Linked DNA regions of Homo sapiens: all the other regions are linked to region 1. The links are contacts of gene promoters, found by promoter capture Hi-C in blood cells and fetal thymus (Javierre and others, 2016). All regions are on one chromosome and are shown on one strand. Each heading gives the region's core, a stretch centred on a gene start or on the middle of the fragment in contact. The rest is flanking DNA. Distances are from core to core; before and after follow the strand shown.

What was found. Contacts are between HindIII fragments. The CHiCAGO score rates a contact against its expected background, and 5 or more counts as called.
Region 2: a contact is called between a fragment that was not itself captured here and the fragment with the promoter of RNASET2 in region 1, in 1 of 17 cell types (non-activated CD4 T cells). The highest score is 5.9, in non-activated CD4 T cells.
Region 3: a contact is called between a fragment that was not itself captured here and the fragment with the promoter of RNASET2 in region 1, in 1 of 17 cell types (M0 macrophages). The highest score is 6.3, in M0 macrophages.
Region 4: a contact is called between a fragment that was not itself captured here and the fragment with the promoter of RNASET2 in region 1, in 1 of 17 cell types (activated CD4 T cells). The highest score is 6.2, in activated CD4 T cells.
Region 5: a fragment that was not itself captured here is called in contact with the fragment with the promoter of RNASET2 in region 1 in 8 of 17 cell types (monocytes, total B cells, naive CD8 T cells and 5 more); the score reaches 9.5 in monocytes.
Region 6: a fragment that was not itself captured here is called in contact with the fragment with the promoter of RNASET2 in region 1 in 6 of 17 cell types (non-activated CD4 T cells, total CD8 T cells, naive CD8 T cells and 3 more); the score reaches 10.1 in non-activated CD4 T cells.
Region 7: a fragment that was not itself captured here is called in contact with the fragment with the promoter of RNASET2 in region 1 in 2 of 17 cell types (fetal thymus and non-activated CD4 T cells); the score reaches 7.4 in fetal thymus.

What each region holds. Positions count from the first base shown.
Region 1 is chr6:166,955,170-166,958,044 of GRCh38, forward strand. It overlaps RNASET2 (ribonuclease T2), which reads right to left and starts at 1,381. Exons shown (of 9, transcript NM_003730.6): 1 at 928-1,381. The coding sequence starts at 1,013. RefSeq lists silencers at 1,147-1,906, 1,947-2,046, 2,317-2,366. The HindIII fragment of the contact is 12,502 bases long and covers 1-2,875 here.
Region 2 is chr6:166,246,142-166,249,016 of GRCh38, forward strand. All of the region lies in intron 2 of LOC101929297 (a long non-coding RNA gene), which reads left to right. Among named protein-coding and RNA genes, the nearest start is that of PRR18, 61 kb to the right of the region's middle. The HindIII fragment of the contact is 1,053 bases long and covers 1,004-2,056 here.
Region 3 is chr6:166,264,180-166,267,054 of GRCh38, forward strand. No RefSeq gene overlaps it. Among named protein-coding and RNA genes, the nearest start is that of PRR18, 43 kb to the right of the region's middle. The HindIII fragment of the contact is 6,772 bases long and covers 1-2,875 here.
Region 4 is chr6:166,337,706-166,340,580 of GRCh38, forward strand. All of the region lies in intron 1 of SFT2D1 (SFT2 domain containing 1), which reads right to left. Among named protein-coding and RNA genes, the nearest start is that of SFT2D1, 3.4 kb to the right of the region's middle. The HindIII fragment of the contact is 5,592 bases long and covers 1-2,875 here.
Region 5 is chr6:166,377,660-166,380,534 of GRCh38, forward strand. The region is part of intron 1 of MPC1 (mitochondrial pyruvate carrier 1); the gene reads right to left. Among named protein-coding and RNA genes, the nearest start is that of MPC1, 3.8 kb to the right of the region's middle. The HindIII fragment of the contact is 1,619 bases long and covers 577-2,195 here.
Region 6 is chr6:166,409,399-166,412,273 of GRCh38, forward strand. RPS6KA2 (ribosomal protein S6 kinase A2) reads right to left here. Exons shown (of 21, transcript NM_021135.6): 21 at 1-2,875. Among named protein-coding and RNA genes, the nearest start is that of MPC1-DT, 28 kb to the left of the region's middle. The HindIII fragment of the contact is 742 bases long and covers 988-1,729 here.
Region 7 is chr6:166,441,440-166,444,314 of GRCh38, forward strand. The region is part of intron 14 of RPS6KA2 (ribosomal protein S6 kinase A2); the gene reads right to left. Among named protein-coding and RNA genes, the nearest start is that of RPS6KA2-IT1, 23 kb to the right of the region's middle. The HindIII fragment of the contact is 188 bases long and covers 1,381-1,568 here.

The DNA of each region.
Region 1 (2,875 bases), core at 131-2,630:
GGCTGCCACACACACACACGCACACACGCACGCACACACGCACGCACACACGCGCACACACGCACGCACGCACACACACGCACACACGCACACACACACACGCGCACACACGACACACACGCACAGACGCGCACACACGACACACACGCACACACACGCACGCACGCACACGCACACGCACGCACACACACACGCACACACAAACGCACACGCACACACACACACGCGCACACACACACGCGCACACACACACACACGCGGAGGGCGAGCCAAGGGAAGGGATTCAGAACAGGATACTCAAAAAGAGGAAGAACCGTCGTTTCACCACCCGCCGCAGTGAAAGCTGAAATTAAGTGTCCCCTCCACGACTTCTTCGACCTCTGAGAGAACTTCGAGTGCAGGAACAGTGCTCCACCAAGCCTGCCACCTGCTTTGTCGCGTCCTAGGCTGGGAGCAGTCTGTGGGATGAGTTTCCAGTCCAGCTCCAGGCTGGAGTGTACCCAGGACCTCACCCTACCCCCTACTCCTTCCCAGGGGTCACCCCGGGGAGTGTTCAGGGCTCCCCAACCCACTTCTTCCCAGGAGTCACCCCAGAGCGTGCCCAGGGCTCCCCCCAACCCACTCCTTCCCAGAGGTCACCCCGGGGCGTGCTCAGGACTCCCCTCATCGCACTCCTTCCCAGAGGTCACTTCTGAGTGTGCTAAGGGCTCCCCCCAACCCACTCCCTCCAGGGGTCACCCCGAGGCGTGCTCAACTTCCCAACTTCTTCCCAGGGGTCACCCCGGAGCGTGCTCGGCTCCCCCCGCCCTCCCCAGTCGCTGCCCGGGGCTCAGCGACCGCCGACCCCGAGAGCTGCAGCCTTCACCCAGTGGAAAGCTCTAGGGCCCGGCTCCCACGCTCCCCACTTTACCTCGCAAGGTAACTCACCGCAGGCGCTTGTCCGCACCGCCCAGGCAAAGCAACGCCAGGCAGAGGCAGCCCAGCAGGGCCCCGCGCAGGGCTGCAGGGCGCATGGTGCCGACCTGCGGAGAGAACGCTGCCAGCTGCCGCTCCGGCTCCCACTTCCCACCTGCTGCCCGAGGAAGACTTCCGGGAGAAACGCTGTCTCCGAGCCCCCGCGCCGCCGCGCTCCCTCCGCTGCAGCAGCGGCCACCGGGTGCGCCCGGAGCCCTGGGACGGCCTAAACCAGTATCTCGCGGGCCCCGCGCCGGGCTCCGGGAATGGCCGCAGCAGCCCTGGCGACCCGGGCCCCTCGGAGCTCCCCTTCAGGATCGTGCACCAAGCGCGCACGTCCCGGGCTCTGCTTCGCGACCCACAGCGACCCCAGCTCCTCCACGCTGCAGCCGCCGTCCGCCCACGACCACGGTCAGTCGCGTTGCTCCCAGCCCAGGGCGCCCTGCGGGCCTGCACCGGAGCAGAGAGCCACGCCCCCAGGACGGCACGCCCCCGCCGGTGGACACGCCCCCCAGAACGGCACGTCCCCGCCCGGCGTTCACGCCCCGCCCCGTGGTTGGCTCAGAGAGGCCGAGGCAGGAGCAGCTCCGCGGGCCTTGAGGGCGTGTCAGGCGGCTGTGTTCCTTCGCCACGCAGGCGCCCCGCGCCTTTTCCCGCAGCTCTGCGCCACTCCCACACTCCCGGGTCCGAGCTAACCTAGACCACCCGTGAGGACCGCCCTCGGGGGGACCGCCCGTGTCTGCGCCATCCCCCGCCAGCAAGTGGGCGTGCGGGCCCCAGGGCCACTCTACTCTCCAGGGACAGCCCCCAGCCCGACCCGCGCACCCTGCAGGCCCGCGGTCCGCACGCAGCACCCGCTTTCAAAAACTGCGCCCTGCAAGCTGCCCGGGAGCTCCTGACTGCAGATGGTGCTTGGCCGCCCAGGCTCCCCGCAGCCTCCCGCCACCTCGGCGCTCCACTGCGCAGCCCGAGGGACGGCTCCAGAATTAGGAGGGGACCTACTCGGGTCACTCTCCTGGAAACCTCTCCAGTCTCCCGGTGCTAGGTGCTGGGAGCACCAACATTCCTAGAAGGGCCTGGCCCTCACCCAGCCCTGGGCCTCACCTGCCCCTCCCCGCGGGCCCCAGGAGCCCGGAAGTCATCTCTGTGGGGGCAGCAAAGAGCCGCCTCGGGGCGCGACCTGGGAAGTCATCTTGTGAGGGATCCCCTCCCAGAGGGACGGGCCACCCCCCACGGATGAAGGGGACTTCATGTCAGCCCCACCTTGGCGTAGCCAGGGCCAGTCCCATAGGCCCGGTCTCCTCCCCCAACACCCTGGCCTTCCCAGCCCTTCAGAGGCACGGGTTCCCCTGCACCCGCGGCCCCGCCCACGGGCTGTGCACCCGGCATTGTCTCTGCAGATGTTTCTCCTCTTTCCCTTCCCTGTCCGCACACCCACAGCTAGTTAAGGCTATTCCTATTTACACGTCGAGTAAACTGCGCCTTCCTCGGGGTCCTCTGCCACTGGTAACTGTCTAAATAGCAGGTGGGCCTGTAGCCTGCTCTCCCACAGGCCTGGACCTTGCCTGCATGCATTACCATTCTTTGAAACAAAATATTTAAATGATTAATCTGTTTTTCCCACTAGACTGCAAGGCAAGGCCCATGTCTATTTTGCCCACCTTGAGTCCCTGCCACTGAGCACAGTGGATGGGGGACAGTCGGTGCTCAATAAAATGCCACCTGTGGAACAGATGGGGGGGGAAAATGGCTGACACCTCCTTAGCTCCTCCAGGACCTCCTACAGGTCATGGTGTTATTCTCGTTCTCCTTTTCCCTAACGACTTATTTGTTTCTTTCCGGCTCCTTTCATTCCTTCCTCTCAAGAATATAGGCACACGCCACAGTTCTTTTTCTCTTTTCTTTTAAGCTAAAAAAATAA
Region 2 (2,875 bases), core at 280-2,779, 710 kb before region 1:
ATACAAAAATTAGCCAGGCGTGGTGGCGCACACCTGTAATCCCAACTACTGGGGAGGCTGAGGTGGGAGAATTGCTGGAACCCAGAAGGGGGAGGTTGCAGTGAGCCAAGATTGTGCCACTGCACTCCAGCCTGGGTGACAGAGTGAGACGCTGCCTCAAAAAAAATTTAAAATAAAATTTCCCTCGTATTGAACTGAACTTTAACTTCTTTGTAAATTATTCCCATTGGCCTTATTTCTGGTCTCTGATGCTACCTAGAATAAATACGAAATATATTTATTGGAATATTTCTTGCCTTAGCTCAGGCTACTGTAACACAATTTCACATGCTGGATGGCTTAAACAACAGAAATTTATTTTCTCACAGCTCTGGAGGCTGGAAGTCCAAGATCAGGATGTCAGCATGGTTGAGTTCTGGCGAGGGCCTCCTCCTGGCTGGCAGACAGCAGAGAACATCAGTCCCCTGTAAGGCCTCCCTCATGATCTCATTGAACCTTGTCACTGCCCAAAGGTGACCTCCAAATACCACCACATTGAAGATTAGGTCTTCGACATAGAAATTTTGGGGATGAGAAGGACACAGTGCAGTCCACAGCAGAATAGTCAATAAAACATGAAATAAGTATAAAATCCACATGCAAACCCCAGGTATTTCAGGCTACTTACACCTCCCCTTGGACCTTTCTTTCCAGGCTCAGATACACCTGCTTTAGTCTTTACTATGGGACAGCTTCTAGAGCTTTACCATCCAGCTGAGCTTTCATTCTTAAAAAGGACTACATTTTTCATCCTTGTTTTGAAACCTTCATGAAATTCCGTAAGTTGTCCACCAAAATCTATCCCATTCTTGCTAGCACTAAATACTTTTATAGCTATGTATATACCTATGGACAAATAAACTGATTTCAGTTCTTTGAATACAGAGGGGTAACCAAAAACCACACCAAAAATGCTTTAAAGTCTTTGATTTTTACAGAGATAATAAAGATGATTTCTTTCAAAAGCTTCGTATTTCTAACACTATTGGAGAAAACCACCTTTCCTAGCTTAATATGTAAGATTTATTTTGATTCAAAAGTGTTAACTGGAACTTCTGCCTCTAAAGTCACGACAGCATTTTGTCTTCTCTCTAGAGAACGCTGCACATTTGTAAATGAAACTTTCAGCCATGTTCAACCATCGGACAGACTGGCCCCCCCCAAATACCACCCTGTCTAGCAAATTGAGACTGTCACACCACATTCTTATTTTTTATTTTTTATTTTTGACGGAGTCTCACTCTGTCGCCCAGGCTGGAGTGCAGTGGAGCCATCTCCGCTCACTGCAAGCTCCGCCTCCCGGGTTCATGCCATTCTCTTGCGTCAGCCTCCCGAGTAGCTGGGACTACAGGCGCCCGCCACCATGCCCGGCTAATTTTTTGTATTTTTTAAGTAGAGACGGGGTTTCACCGTGTTAGCCAGGATGGTCTCAATCTCCTGACCTCGTGATCCTCCCACCTCGTCCTCCCAAAGTGCTGGGATTACAGGCGTGAGCCACCGCGCCCGGACCACATTCTCTTCTAAGGCAGGAATCATGCCTATCTTTTTGTACATCTTTGAAATGAAACTATGTGGATGATGCAAAATATTACTTTGCATGCAATTAGAATTTTTAAATGCCGGTTACACCAATCACTTTACTGAATGAATATTTTAATGCTAAGTGATGAAAAAGATGGAAACACAGTAGACATACAAAAATATTCCCTAAGAGAAATGAAAATATAATGTTAGATAACGCATTTGTCATCTATACGAGAAATCTCATCTGCTTTTCCTGGGGGAGCCCACTGTCCTTATCAGTGTGTACCACGGGCCTGGTTTCCTTCTCCTAGGAGCAGCCAAAAGCCAGGGTCCAGGATTAGACATTGCAAAGAGATATTTTAGCACCATCAAGAAGGCCGATTTGCTCATGTGGTAGTAGAACATTGCATTTGATATTATAAATTTTCATTAGCCTGTAAATAAAAAAGAATATAAATTCACAATGAGATATACTGCTTAATATTAAGGATAAAGCTTTAATAGTTAAACAATAAATTCTTCCTTTGGTGTAAAACTAGAAATGTATAGTCCTTTCAACTATGCAAGATTTATTTTGATATTTCAATATTCAATAACATTTTTATATGCATATATATAAAGATATACATCTGGAAAACTCTTTAAATTTATCATCATGTAAAAAATTTTATTGATGTGTTATTCATTCTTAGAATTCTAGAGAAAATTAACTTTTTTATGTTGATAAAGACATAAAGACATGTTTTTATATACAATTTATACATTCCATAATTATAGTAAATAATATTTGTAGACACCTATTTAGATCAAAATCCAGTATTTTCTAGAAAATGGTACCATTGTCCTTTTGTGAATATTTATGGACAGGTTGCTCTCTCTCCATGCTAAGATTCCTTCCTAAGTCTAGTCCCATGACTATAGCAGACCTTTAATTACCAAATGCCCATTGAGATGTCCAGTTGCAATCAGGACGCCTTCTTCACACAAGTCTTCTTTTTTTTTTTTTGAGACGGAGTCTCGCTCTGTCGCCCAGGCTGGAGTGCAGTGGCACGATCTCGGCTCACTGCAAGCTCCGCCTCCCGGGGTCATGCCATTCTCCTGCCTCCCGAGTAGCTGGGACTACAGGCGCCCGCCATGACGCCTGGCTAATTTTTTGTATTTTTTTGTAGAGACAGGGTTTCACCGTGTTAGCCAGGATGGTCTCGATCTCCTGACCTCGTGATCCGCCCGCCTTGGCCTCCCAAAGTGCTGGGATTACAGGCGTGAGCCACCGTGCCCGGCCTTCACGCGGGTCTTCCATAAAACATAAAAC
Region 3 (2,875 bases), core at 258-2,757, 690 kb before region 1:
AGAAGTACTGTGACACAAAGTCCATTTGAGAGGCTAAAAGGCCAAAGTGTCCGGGGGCTGAAAACCTGCAGCCACCTGCCGGGTTCAAATGCCAGCTCTACCGCTTGACAGGCTACATGACTGTAACAAGTTACTTAACTTCTTTATACCTCAATTTTCATCATCTGCAAAATGGAGTTGATACTAATAATGCCTAGCTTACATGGTTTTTGTGAAGACTAAATTATCTGATCTGTATAAAGCATTTGGAGGCAGGCTGCCCACAGTAAATCCTATATAAGCGCTTGCTATTCTATTATTATCAAGATTTCAACAATTATGACTATTTAGTTCATGGGCTCTGTGACATCTATCTTGATTCTTAAGATCATTTTCCTTATTTCTTGTTATCTGTGAAGTCTTGAATAGCTGAGGTTACTGAGTAGTTCACTTCTATATAGGAGAGATACTATAAATGCTTCAGTAATGCACTCATGATGGAATGAAGACAGTTGACCATGTTCTTTGTTTTTGGTATAATTTTAAAAGATATATAGACACATATGCACATGTATACATACATATGCATACATCACATGCACTCATTTGTGCAAATAACCAATGGAGATTTAATGTCACTGTGAATTGCAAAACACACTCTACTGAGAGTATTAAAAAATAATGATGCTCACAAACTGAGATAGGTTGTCTTGATCGGACTCTGGTCACCCTGTTTAGGAAACAGTGTAATTGTACATGCTATGGTCTCCTCCATTGAGTTCAAGGACTCAGGAAATTGTATACTAGGTTTCCTGAGACAAAGCACCACTTTAATCAAATAATTAGTTATTTTGGTGTTTTAAAGCACAGCCCACAACAAACCATTATTTATTGTCCACCTAATGTATGCAAAGTAGCAAAACAAATAGATTTGCTATTAGTTTTTTAAAAAGTTAAATTATTTCTGGCGCCAGAACTAATTATTTAGTTAAAATCACTTTAGCATTGCTGCTATGTATATACTTTTATTAATTATCTATTTGATATAAATGTCTTCAAGTACGGTCATTAATGGAAAATGTTTGCTAAAACCAATAAATGATAGGATTTTGAAATCCATCAAAGTCTGCCAAATGCTAGCACTTTCACTTGTGTCTTGGTTCCTACTAAACAATTAACATTTATTATATTAAAATCCTTTAAGTTAACCATTTTATCTTGGCAGTTATCAACTCTGAGAGAGCGAATTTGTAGAGCCCTAATTCTGCAGCGAAGGCAAGTCTGTGATTTTGAAAATGGGGAAGATTGGAATCTGCCCTCTTCAGACTTAAAACAGGGGATCTTAATCAGGCTCCTCTTTCCTGGTGGATGGAGGTGGGGAAAGGCACGATTCTATAGACCAAGCCTGGCTGGATCTGTCGTCTTTCGTTCAGGCTTCAAAGTACTGGTCATGCCAAGTTTCATGTGGAAGGACGGTAGAGCCTGATAAACCTGCCCTTGGCCGTCCTCGGAGAGATTGACTAGGCCTGTGGTCAACGCTTTAAGTATCTTGTTCTGCACTGATCTCATCCTTTGGTCTAACCTAGAGATCTACAACTCAACAAATGTCATCATCGGTGTTCCCCGGATGAGAAAAATCAGTGGCTTACATGTTCATAGCTACTTGAACAGGAAAAAAAAAAAAAAAAAGGGCTTTGAGTTTTTCCTCCAAAATATTGTTACCCCTGAAACACATCTGTAGGCCTGGTTTTGAAACCCGTGGTAGCAGAGCCTACATGTTAGGGGCTTGAGGAGGACAGGGAGGTTGGGTGTTTCCACTCTGCATGTGAATCCTCTGAATTATACTTTTTTTACTCTGCTGTTTCAACAGTCCACTTGACATTAATGCCTACTAATTTGGGTAAATGTGGCTCTAGATCCTTTAAATGAAGAAAAAATCAAAAGCATGAAAAAGTGAAAACAAATTTAAATTTAGCAATTCAAGGTGCAATAAAACACCACCATATCCTTTAAAAAGGTAATTACATTGTAAGTCTCTGGTTAAAATGGAAACTGAGAGAAAGATTAATAAAATACATTATTGAGAAAGTAATCCATTTTTAAAGTTCAACTAATTCAACACAGCATACATTTACTAAAAGCCTAAACTATATTCCTGTCATAAGTATAATTAAGTAACTAATAAAATAAACCCAAAGCTCAATATTGTTTATATGGCTTGGAAGTAATTCCCAAGTACTTCTGAGCCCCAGGGGTAGGAGCCTTGTCCTGAGTAAGTCACTTCATTTGTCTAGGTGTTAATTCTTCTAACTGTAAAATGAAAATTATTTCCTCATGGAAAAATTCTTCTCTCTTCCTGTTTCCTTATAAGGCCCTTCAAATCCATTACCTTCTAATACTCCTTACATTCCTCCAGCATTAAATAAGGTGTTTAAACACAAGGTGAGTCATTTTCTTTTTTTTTTGGAAACGGAATTTTTTTGCTCTTGTCACCCAGGCTGGAGTGCAGTGGCATGATCTCGGCTCACTGCAACCTCTGCCTCCTAGGTTCAAGCGATTCTTCTGCCTCAGCCTCCCAAGTAGCTGGGATTACAGGCACGTGTCACCATGCCTGGCTAATTTTGTATTTTTAGTAGAGACAGGGTTTCACTATGTTGGACAGGCTGGTCTCGAACTCCTAACTCAGGTGATCCACTCAACTCGGCTTCCCAAAGTGCTGGGATTACAGGCGTGAGCCACCGCGCCCAGCCAGGTGAGTCATTTTCTAACTTGAAAATTCATTCTAATTATATTTATTGTCAACATAACTATATAAAATCTGTCCAATTCCTCAAAAGTCAATTTCAACAATGCGTTTGAAGGCAGATGCTTTCTCTGCCCATCACTGACTAAATTC
Region 4 (2,875 bases), core at 260-2,759, 620 kb before region 1:
TATTACCATCTTCCACGCGGTGATCTTTGAAGTGAAACATGATAAATTAATGCCATTTGTAAATATGAAATAACTCAGTCAACAAGCAAATGACTTGTCTCAACCTGTGTGCTATGGTCTGAGTGTTTGCTGAAATCCTCGACCCCATGGTGATGGTACTGGAAGATGGCCCTTCAGGAGATGATCAGGTCATGGGGATGGAGTCCTCATGAATGGGATCCACGCCCTAATAAGACGAGAAAGAGACTAAAGCTCTCTGCTCTCTGCCATGTCAAGATATAACCAGAGGCAACAGTGTGACACCAGGAAGGGGGAGGCCTCACCAAGAACCCATGAGTGCACCTTGATCTCTGACTTCCGGCCTCAAAACCCGTAAGAAATAAATTTCTGTTGTTTATAAATCACAAAGTCTAAGGTATTTTATTACAGCAGGCTGAATGGACTAAGACATCTCGCAAATTGTCAGCAGGGGTTAGTAGGACTCCCACAAGAGAACTCTGTAGAATGTTCCGGCATTATGTTCTTGTCATCTAACTCCCAACAATTACCTTATGCCAATGCCCTCAGCTCTCCTTGGTAGTTACCCAAATCCAAACAACTCACTCATCTGTTTGTTCAACAAGTAGTTATGAACAGCTATTAGACACCAGGTACTTGGTAGGTTCTACATACACAGAAAGGAATAAGACAGCACCTAGCGTACTTACATTCAGATGGGGGAAAATGGGCAATAAACTAATGAGGCAGGTTCTACTAAGGACATAAATAGGGGCAGAGTAACTGGGTCAGGAAGAGCCTCTCTAAAGAGGTGACCAAGTGAAGACATCAGGAAGTGACCAATCCAACTCTGAAAAGAGCCAGGAAGGGGCATTCCTGAAAAAAGAAATGCAACTGCCAGGTCTCCCAGGCAGAAGAAAATGGCTCCAACTGAGGAGGAGAAAGAGGGCAGGGCAAGGCAAGCACTGGGGAGAGGGTGGGGAGGCGGGCCGACAAGCAGTGCAGGGCTGAGAGGCCAAGGGAGGGATCTGGATTTTACTCAAGTGCTGCAGGAAGTCAATGAAGGATGTGATCAGGGGAGGAATATGATCAACTCTCTTAAGATCTGGCTCAATATCTCTCCCTCCTTGACTTCTTCCCAGGCATCTCGAAGGAGAGGTCCCAGAACTCTGGCTACCGTGCCTCTCCCCGGGGCTCAAAGCGCCTGCATAGGAGGATGATGCAGCCTGGATGTCAGGATGCTCCCCTATGACCTTCACTGCCTCGCCCAACTCCTCAACTGGCCTAGAACCATCCCTGTCAAGACCCAATTCCAATGTGCCCGCCATCCTGGTTACGTCTTGCTGCACAAGACGTGCAACACTCTCAGGTCATCCCTCACCCCATTCAGGTCTGTGCGCCTTTAATCCCATCTCATCTCCTACCCATCTCCAAAAACCAACAGCAAACCTCCCTATGTCCTCACCCTCTTCTCTGATGATCCTCTCACCTTCCGGCTAGGTTTGAAATTTAGTCTCCAGGACCAGGGCTCTCCCCTGTGAATCCTGTACCACTTGGACAGGCAGTGAGCTAGGTGTCTGCCCTCCTCACTGCCACTTCCTGCCCCTTCCTCCTCCCTAGAGAAACCTGCTTTCCAAGTCACTCCTCAATAGCCCCCTAGCAACAATTCCCTCTTGCCTGCACCATAATTTTCCCCTTTCCTGGACCATTCCCAATGCACAGAAACATCCAGTATTTTCCTTGGGAAAATGACATGTTCCCCGACCCCACTGCATCCTTCAACTACCACCCACTTCTTTGCTCCACAGGAAAAATCACTGAGATGGCCATACCATCTCCATCTTCTTTCTATTCTCCCCTGACTTCAATCAGGCCTCTGACCCCATCCAGCCACCAAGACTGCTCTCGTGGAAGTGACAACTGATAACCTCCACGGGTAATCTGCTCTTAACTTCTGAGACCCATCAACAGTACTGGGTCCCATCCCCTTCCTAAAGCACTCTCTTCCCTCACTTTCTGGGGCATCCTTCTCTCTTGGTTCTCCTCCTCCTTCTCTCGCCACGCCTCTCAGCTGTCTTTGCCGGCTTCTGCTCATCCTCTAAACTTCTACACACCTAGAGAAAACCAGAGGTCAAACCTTGGACCTCATCTTGACGATCTCATCTCTCTCCTATTTCCTCCCACAAACTCTACAGTGTTACGTCCAACTGCTTTCCTCACATCTCCACTTGGATGCTACCTGGATCTCAGACTTCACGTCCACACTGAAATGATTTTCCTCCCTGAACCTGCTCCTCCCACAGTCACTTAATGGCAACTCCACCTCTCCAGATGCTCAGGTCGAATGCCATGAGGCATCCTTGCCTCCTCCCACTCTCACACATCCAATCCGTCAACAGTGTGGCCTGCTGGCTGTACACTCAGACCATTTACAGAATCTGACCACTTTTTTGTTTTTTAAACAGGCTTTTTTGCTCTTTAAACCACTTCTATCACTGATTTGAGCCACAGTCATCTCTTGCCAGGACAACTGTACTTGTCTCCAGCCCAGTCTCTGGGCTTCTAACATTGCCTCTACAGTTTGTTCTCCACAGAGCTGCCAGAGTGATCCTTTAAAATCCAAGTCGGTCACACCACCACTCTGCTCTAAACCCAAAGGCTTCCTATCACACTCAGAGTAAAGCTAAAATCCTTTCTATGGCCTATGAGAACCCTCACAATTGAGAATCCCCCTTCCTGCTTCACCTTTTCTTCTACAATTGTCCCTCTTCTCTGCCCCGCTGCTAGAGCCCCTCTGGCCTCCTTACTGGCCCTGAACATGCTGACCACACACCACTTGGGACTCTGTATCTGCCTTGGAGGCTTTTATTCACAGGAT
Region 5 (2,875 bases), core at 136-2,635, 580 kb before region 1:
TTACCAAATTTTGTCTAGTTTTCTAGTTCAAATTAAAATGAGGGAGGGTTTTGACAATTAGAATTTGTGATATTCAGCTATATTTAGCGAGCCAAAAGTCAGCTGAATGACAGTAAAGATCTTTGTGACTGGACTATCCAGATATTAAGAGATTCTTATGGCCAGTCCTGCTTCAACATTTCCAGCTTCATTCAATTTCTGAAAGTCAATTATATGGCAGGGAAGTGCTCAAAGAGTCCAAGGACCGGGTGTGAAAAGCAGTTTGGCAGAGAAAAGGGAGACATATGCAGGAAAACATGGAGCACAAAAATATCTAAAACCTTCTTTTCAAAACCATTTCTATGCATTACTATTTTCCTTTAAATCCCAAGTTGACATTTCTGTTTTAGCTTCACAAGTTTGGTATCCAGAGGTTCTGAAGTTATCTGTTTGGTTCAGATATCAGCCTTCTCATGTGGCAAATGAAGCACTGGAATTTCTAAGGCCTGTTCCAACTCTAATATTCCACAAGTTTGGGAAAGATTCACTTTTATTTTACTGCAACTTCTCACCTGGGTAGTAAGTATAAATTCTGAAAGCTTTCCTGGAGACTCAGAAGTTAAAATTAATTTAGAATACCTGATCAACTTGAGAATATTCAATGCAAACATCCCACTAACTTCAGATTCATAAGCATACTAAGTGATTAACTGATTTTAAAGCACTCTATGATCTAGGTTCTTCTTAAGAAAACATCCTCTGCACACATATACAAATACATGTGTGTGTGTGTGTGTGTGTGTGTATCCATTCACCTTTACTGTAATATACAAACTTGAGAAGAGGAATAAGTCGCTAGAATAAAGCTGCACAGACCTTGATTGAGTTAATCATTAAAATATATGTCCTACCTCAAAACTGTTTTGCTTATTCTAATTTATTCTTCTTAACCAGAAATCCAGGAAGGAGAATGAGAGAAGAGGAAAAGCAAAGAAGAGCTCTCTTTTTCTATTCTGTCAATAAGAAAGGTGAGGGAATAGTTTCTTAAGAAAAAGGTATTGGAATAGAGACCCAGGAAGTTCTTGATTCAAGATCCTAATCAAGGTAAGTAACAAGAGATGGAAGAAAGTACCAAAAAGAGAGTACCAGAAATCCTGGGGATTAAACATGCAATATTAGTTACAATAAAAAATAAATTGAACACTTACTTTTGTCAAGCGCTATACTATGTCATTAAACAGCTACGAAAGCACAAAAGCTAAACAATTTGCCCAAGCTCACAAAGCTGGAAAGCAAGAGCTGGGCTTCAAATCCATCATTCAAACTCATCACCTAGGTTTAACGGTATTATTATCACAATTAACAATTGTCAATAATTATTTAATATTATTTAATACTGAGATCCTATTTAAGTGTTCCGTTATCCCAGTAATGCCTTTTCCAGCTGTTTTTTCACACCAGGCCCAATCAAAGTCCACACATTATCTTTGGTTCTTAGGTGTCCTAAGTGAGAGCCTGTTTCATAACCTCTTTCAGTGAAATAAAAAAAAATCATTTAAAATACATGTGGATGGGCTGGGCACAGTGGTTCATGCCTATAATCCCAGAGCTTTGGGAGGCCAAGATGGGAGGACTGCTTGACACTGGGAGTTCAAGGACAGCCTGGGCAACATAGCAAGGTCCCATCTCTAAGAAAAAACAAAAAACTAGCCAGGTATGATTGTGCACACCTGTAGCCCTAGCTACTCGGGAGGCTGAGGCAGGAGGCTCACTCAAGCCCAGGAGTGGGAGGTTACAGTGAGCTATGATCATGCCATTGCACTCCAGCCTGGGTGACAGAGTAATACCCTGTCTCTAAATAAATAAATACACTTGGAAATTCAGTTTAGTAAGAATGTTCAACTTGATTCATAAAACATGATTGAAATAAATTTATAATCTGTGTAAAATATGATTTTAAATTTATGCTGAAAAACTCAATTATGTTATTAATTTTTAAAATTCTAGAACAGCTTTAGTTGAGAAAACCTCTAGACCCCTTCAGTAGGCTACAAAAAGAATGCAGAGGATGCAAAGTGTGTACAACAGGCAACTGATGAAGTAAAAAGAGGAAGGGATGGAACCTTGTTTCTGATTAGAAGAAAAGAGATACAATGACGTTTTCTGCTTTATATTTTATTCTCCTTTGCTAAAGAAAAGCCGGGCTGTAAGCGTAAAGCTTGGAAGAACAAATAGGAAGTACTTTCCTCTGATATGTTCTAGGAAGAAATGTTTCTCTTTCTAGGGCAGGAAACACTAAAATAAAAAGCTTCTGGTCAGAGTGTTGATACCTGACCTCAAACTGGCCCTCAATCACTGTTTGGCAGACCTAGCATGAATTCCCACTGCTGCCAAGAATGGCAGGGTAAACAGATCAGCTGAATGTTTCACATCACGTGTTCACCTTTCAAAAATAATTTCAGTTCAAGATCATAGAGCTTTATAGCTCACACAAGATTTTAACTTTCTAAATAACTGTAAACTTTAAAAAATGTTTTCGCTTGCAAAAACAGAAGGATATAATAAAATGTAGAGTGATTTGGAGTTTCCAAGTATTTTCACATCCCTTATCCAATTTAATTTTCTTGATAACCCAAAAAGAGCATTATCATTAAACCCATTTGATGGACAAATAAAGTCTGCTGGGATCAACTTGCTGGGGATCCTGGACTGTAAGTCATTCTTCTGAATCTTAGTGTGGTGCTCTACCAGGCAACACTGTTCCGAGTAATGCAATTCTCTTCTTTTCCTTATTTAGTCAAAGTGTAATTGAATTAAATACTGGAGAAAGTATAAAAATTTAAAGCTACATAAAGTTAATTTTAGAAAAAAAGGTTAGATGATATACTGAAGTATC
Region 6 (2,875 bases), core at 109-2,608, 550 kb before region 1:
AACCATGTTTATTCAAAAAAATCTATTCAGAAAGTCTGGAAAGCGTAATAAATATCTGTACAGTGGCCACCCATCTCAAACATGAATTACAAAGCAGGAACATAAAAATGATGTGTAAACATAACTGCTGAGCCAGTGAACAAAGTGCTGAGTCAGGAGCGAGGCAGAGAAGCGTGCTCAGTAGAACGACACAGATGCTGCAGCCTCCGTCCTCAGCCCCTCAAGCTGCGCTGGAGTCCACCTTCCGCCCTCTCCACACCGCTCAGGGACCGGCAGCGTCCTTCTCCATTCTCGAATTTGCATGACGCTTAGAAAGGTAGGAGGCAGCAAAACGTGTCAGAAATGAACGGAGTGCAAATCAAACTTTGCCATGTGCTTGAGAGAATCAGTAAAGCGTTAGGTAAAAATCCCAAGTGCAGCTTTAGGATAACACCATTTAATGAACAATACTGGATAACATTAAGTACTATTATCACTTTAAAATTCAAACAATCTTCCAAACATCAATACATACACAGTTAGTTTAAAATCACAGACAAATCGGACTTGAGGGTAAAAGTGAAATCCTCACCTCTTGCCCATGTTTGACTTTGGGATGGAATTCAGCAAAGCTCTCCCACTGCAGATTGGGAGAATCAGGTATTTCTCCCACATGGGGGGCTGCCAGGGAAGGAGGACCCTATAGGGTGGCCAGCAAGGGGCCACTGGCGGTAGGTCAGGAAGCCTGAGATCTAGGGTTCAATGTGTTTATAAGTTCTGTGATTTTCATGACCCGGGGGTGGGGGGTTGGGTTATGATGAACTGTGTGAGGAAGGAGAGCCAGTTAACTTTTGGGGAGGTCTATGTCATTTGTGCAAATCATACGGAGCATTTCATTCGTTGTGGAGGTGCGCTGAGCTGGCAAAATGCGAATTCTAAGAACACCTTCATTTACATGTCGACTGCTGCTTGAAAGCAGTCACTTGCTATTTCACTAAGGTTTTTGAAAGCTTAGTTTAACATATGATACCATAACTTCTTTAGGCTGACTTTTGTGGAAGGATGTCAAGTATCATTTTGTTCTGGATATGGGAGGGAAAGTAGAGGTATTTCACAGACACTCAGCGGAGCAGGGCCAAGCCAGTGTTCTCCTCCGCTGATGCACATCAAATACATGTAAGGACAGAGCTCGCTGTGATGGGGAGTCTCGTCGGTCCCTTTGGCATTCTTAGAGTTCAGAAGCTAAGTCTGTACAAACTGGGATGACTGAAAAAGACCATGAGCTGGTGCCCCATGGGCACACAAGGAGGGAAAACCGTGGCCGCTTTCTCACGGATGCTTTCCCTTTCACTTCCCCCACTTCTCACTCCCTGCACCAGAACCCACTGACTTTAAGCAAACAGACAGGCCTGCACACCAAGCCAGGCCAAAGGGTCCGGGCAGCTGATGGGGGAATCGTTGCCTGTGTAGCAAGCAGAAAAGGTGATGACTTTTGTTCATTTCTGGGAGGACAGATTGTGTGACCTCAGGATTATCCACTTCTTCCTAAGTTTCTAAAAAGAAGTGAAATAATTAAGACCTAAAAAGCAAATTCATCATGGTGGAAGTCGTTCTAGCCTTGGGAAAAAGCATCTTCTATGGAGAAAATGTGAGGAATACCCTGTGGGCACTATGGAAACAGGTATTCAGTCCGACTTGCTCCTTTTATGTTTTGTGGTTCTCTAAGAAAAAAAAAATCCACATGGATTAAAGCTTGTGAAACAAGTTTATATTTTAAGGTCTGAAAACAATCAGACCAAGCTAAGGAGTTATTTTTCAGAACGCAGCACATTTTTTCTTTATTTTTTTTTTTTTAGTTGGGTACGAGAATCGAGATGGAGGGGGAACAAAACCCAACAAAATAACATCTTCTTAGGGAAAACCTGGCTGTGGCCAGCGGGCACCTCCTGAAGCCCTGCTTGCTGCAGAGGCGCCGCTCTTCAGTGATGCAGGGTGAGGGGCTGAGCGGCGCCTCCTCCCATCTAGTCTGCTTGGGGGCCGCCAGGGAGCATCTTCAACACCCTTACAGGACAATGAAGGACCCGTGTGTTCCCTCTGCCGGCTGGACTGGGCGTCGATCCTGCTGCCCGGAACCTCTCACTCGATTTTACTCAATGAAGTAGAGCACAGCATGGCCTAAATGCCCCACACCCGCCCTGTGTGCACACCCAGGGGAATACGGATCAGTGTGAAAAAACAGATCTGTGCAACAGAGACACAAAACGCAACACAAAGCCACAGCATCTACAAAGTGCATCGCTCCTGTCCACGCTGATCTCCGCTGCCCTCCCACCTGTGCCTCTGCCCCTCAGTCTGCTGGGTGGGGCCTGTGTCTCCCTCCAGCCTCCAGCTGGACTGAGAAGGTTTGGGTGGGAAGCCACAGAGCTCCATTTCTCCAATTCACAGTTTCTCCACAGACCAGAAAAATCGAAGTGAACACAGCAAAACCACAGCTTTAGGTGAGCACACAGGAAGCCGACACAGGGCTGAGCAGGTGCGAGAACCCACGACTCCCTGCAAAGCCTCCAGATAGCTGTGTGGCCACGGGAGCTGGGGACAGACGGCAGCCCAGTGCGCTTGGCCCCCCGGGGAAAGCCGAGACTGGAGGTGGACACAGGCTCCTCCGAGAGGCACCCCCTTCCATCCTGGTGACACGGAGCTCTCAAGGCAAAGATCCAGCCTGCCTTCCTCTCGTCTGGGCTCTTACTCCTCATTTGAATCTGGGACAGAGGAAAGGATGGGCTACCCAGCACCTCAGGCAAAAACTGAAGGGCGAGGAGGAAACGGCTCTTTGGATTATTTTGGGCAGAACCAGGCATCTCCTCCTGGACGCCACAGTGCCAACCCCGTCATCCAG
Region 7 (2,875 bases), core at 225-2,724, 510 kb before region 1:
CCCAGGTTTGGCCACAGTGGTTTGACTCAGCTGCACAGCCACCTCTGTTCCCCAAGACGGGTGCAGCTAACACCCCACGTGATACTGGGAAGCCCCATGGTGAAACCATCCACTGCTTTCTCAATGGCTTAGAATTCTTTGCAGGACCTGGCACTGGATCCTCTGGAGTGAACTTGAACACAAGCTCCCCTGAGTCCTCTCCTTCTCCGGCCCCGTGCGGCTCACTGCAGCGCCCAGCGTTAGGCCATGGGCTCTTTCAAGATGTAGCTTCTGCAACAAGCCCAGGTGCTGCCCTGAGGACGAGCAGGCTGTGATCCACAGGAGCCGGGGCTAGTGCTGCCAGTGACCTCGGAGCACAGACTGAAAACAGAGGTCTACATGAACGCAGACCATCCTGAATGCTGTGGGGAAGGAAGCTGGAGCAGCTGCCGGGGGCCGGGGGCCGGGACCCTGGCTAGGGGCCTCGCAGCTGAGTGCTGGAGGAACCAGGTGCACTGTGCCTTTGGAGGTGAAGTTAGAGGAAGCGGTCCGGCTGCCGCTCAGCACTTACACAGCTGAACCATGGCCCACTTGGTGGCAGCAGGACCTTTCACTGGGGTACACCCAGACTCATAAGACCAGGAGACTCAGGTGCGATTTTACATAGAGCTCCACTTGCACCTGGCACACCTTCCCCTTACAGCCTAGGGACTTTGGCTATTTATCAAACAATGGATTTTTCTTGCAGGTCCCATGACTTGAGCTTTCCAGCTATTCTGAAGCCCAGCCTTACTGCCCAGCCCCATCTGCTCTGAATACTGCCTCATTCTTTCATGGTTTGGGTACTCTGAGATGCATAGAGCATCTGGCTGAAACAGAACACTGGGGCTCCCCGCCTTATGACGAGTGAGTCTGCTGGACAGGGGTCGAGAGTGTGCACTCGGGGTCTGACTGCTTGGACGGGAACCTGCTCTCTCACTGACCGGCTGCGACTTCTCGCATATGTGTTGAACCGTTCTGAGTTTCTGTTCCCTCATGGGGATAATGAAAATAATTACACCGTGGGATGCTGTGAGGATTAAATGACTTCACACATACAGAGCGCTTATAGCAGTGCTTGGCACGTACTGAGTATGAAGTATTTACTCTCGTCATCCTCGTAACTCTCGTCACCATATTCTATCTAACGCCTGCAGCTCCTGGTCTCAGGAACTTCAGTTCTCGGGCAGTTTCCTCTTCATATGTGTACTGACGTTGGTGTTTTGCAAAAGAGGGTCAAGGTGGCAAAATTGGCACTCGAATGATGTAATGTAGTTTTATGCCTATTATGACATCTATAATAAATAAAAACTTCAGTCATTAGTAGAGATGGCCAAGAGCTCTCTCAAGGTATGTGTATTAAGCTTATGAGAAGGGGAGATACTAGTGACACAAGCTAACATTTCTGTAGTGAATTAGCTATGATATGTGTAGACAGTTGACCCTTGAACAACATGGGGGTTAGAGGTACCGACCCCTCAAGAAGTTGAAAATGCACATATAACTTTTGACTTCGCCAAAACCTAACTAATGTCCCACTGTTGACTTAAAGCTTTACCAGTAACATAAACGGTCCATTAACACATATTTTGTATTTGTATAATTATATACTGTATTAAGAATAATTATACAATTATATACTGTATTAAGAATACAGTATATAATTCTGTAATAATACGATCTAGAGGAAAGAAAATGTTACTAAGCAAATCATAAGGAAGAGAAAATACATTTAGTGTATGGGACTGTATTTATGGATATAGTGAGTTTATGCCATCTGTTCACAAGATGGATCGTCTGTCTGAAAAGGGGGGCACTCACAGCTGCAGACCTCAACCTGGGGTACGTATCATGCAATTCAACTTTTGTTTTTTTTGGTCATGTGATGACTTTTCTCTGCCTCTTGGGAGCACTCACAGCGTCCCTAGTGGCACGGGACTTCTTAGTGGTTCTATGGTGTTATTCAAGGTTTATGGAACTGCACTAAACACGGTGAAAAATATGTGAGAACCACAAGATACCATTTTTTACTGCTATTCCCAATTCCCTGGAGAGACAGACTCCTCACATGGAGACGAGGAGTGTCACAGGACGTTTAAAGCGGATCCTTCCAACACCTGAGCTTACTACAGCAGCAATGGAAGGCTGCTGTGAAATTCTTACGGTAGTGCCATATTCGCCACAGTTAATTTGCTGCAGCTATGATTTAATGCTGAATCTATGTTTGTTTACATTTATCTCAACTGCAAATGGCGCCACGTATGGTCTATGCTTGAGCACATAAATTTTGATACATTTTAAGTTTGTATAATAAATCTGTGTATATTTTATAGTAGAAAATGATAAAATAGACTAGCATCTATGTATATTTTATGCATCCTGACATACCATTTTCTTAACTTTTTAAATATTTCTAGGCTATGTGGTTTGTCTGTGAGTTTCTTCAAATTGTAACAAATCTCTAAAAAATTTTCCAGTATATTTACTGAAAAAAATCTGCATACGTGGATCCTCACAATTCAACCCCGTGTTGTTCAAGGGCCAACTGTATATATTTACATATTCCCCCACCAATATAATGCCAGGAATCCTTCCATTTATACAAATCAGCACTATCTAGAATATGTACCTAATTATGTTAAGCAACAAAGTCCTAAGAATAAAATAAAAACAAATAATTCCCTCTCTCAATTCTTATAAAGTGAATACAGCATCTTTGATGGAATAGGAATATTATTTTTTCTTTCAAATACACCTCTCCCCTTCCTTTTAATCCTCCTGGATCACGATTACCTCCAACACTTAATAGTCACTTCTATTTTAATCTTATTTTAAATGAAGGGTGCCCTAATGTGCG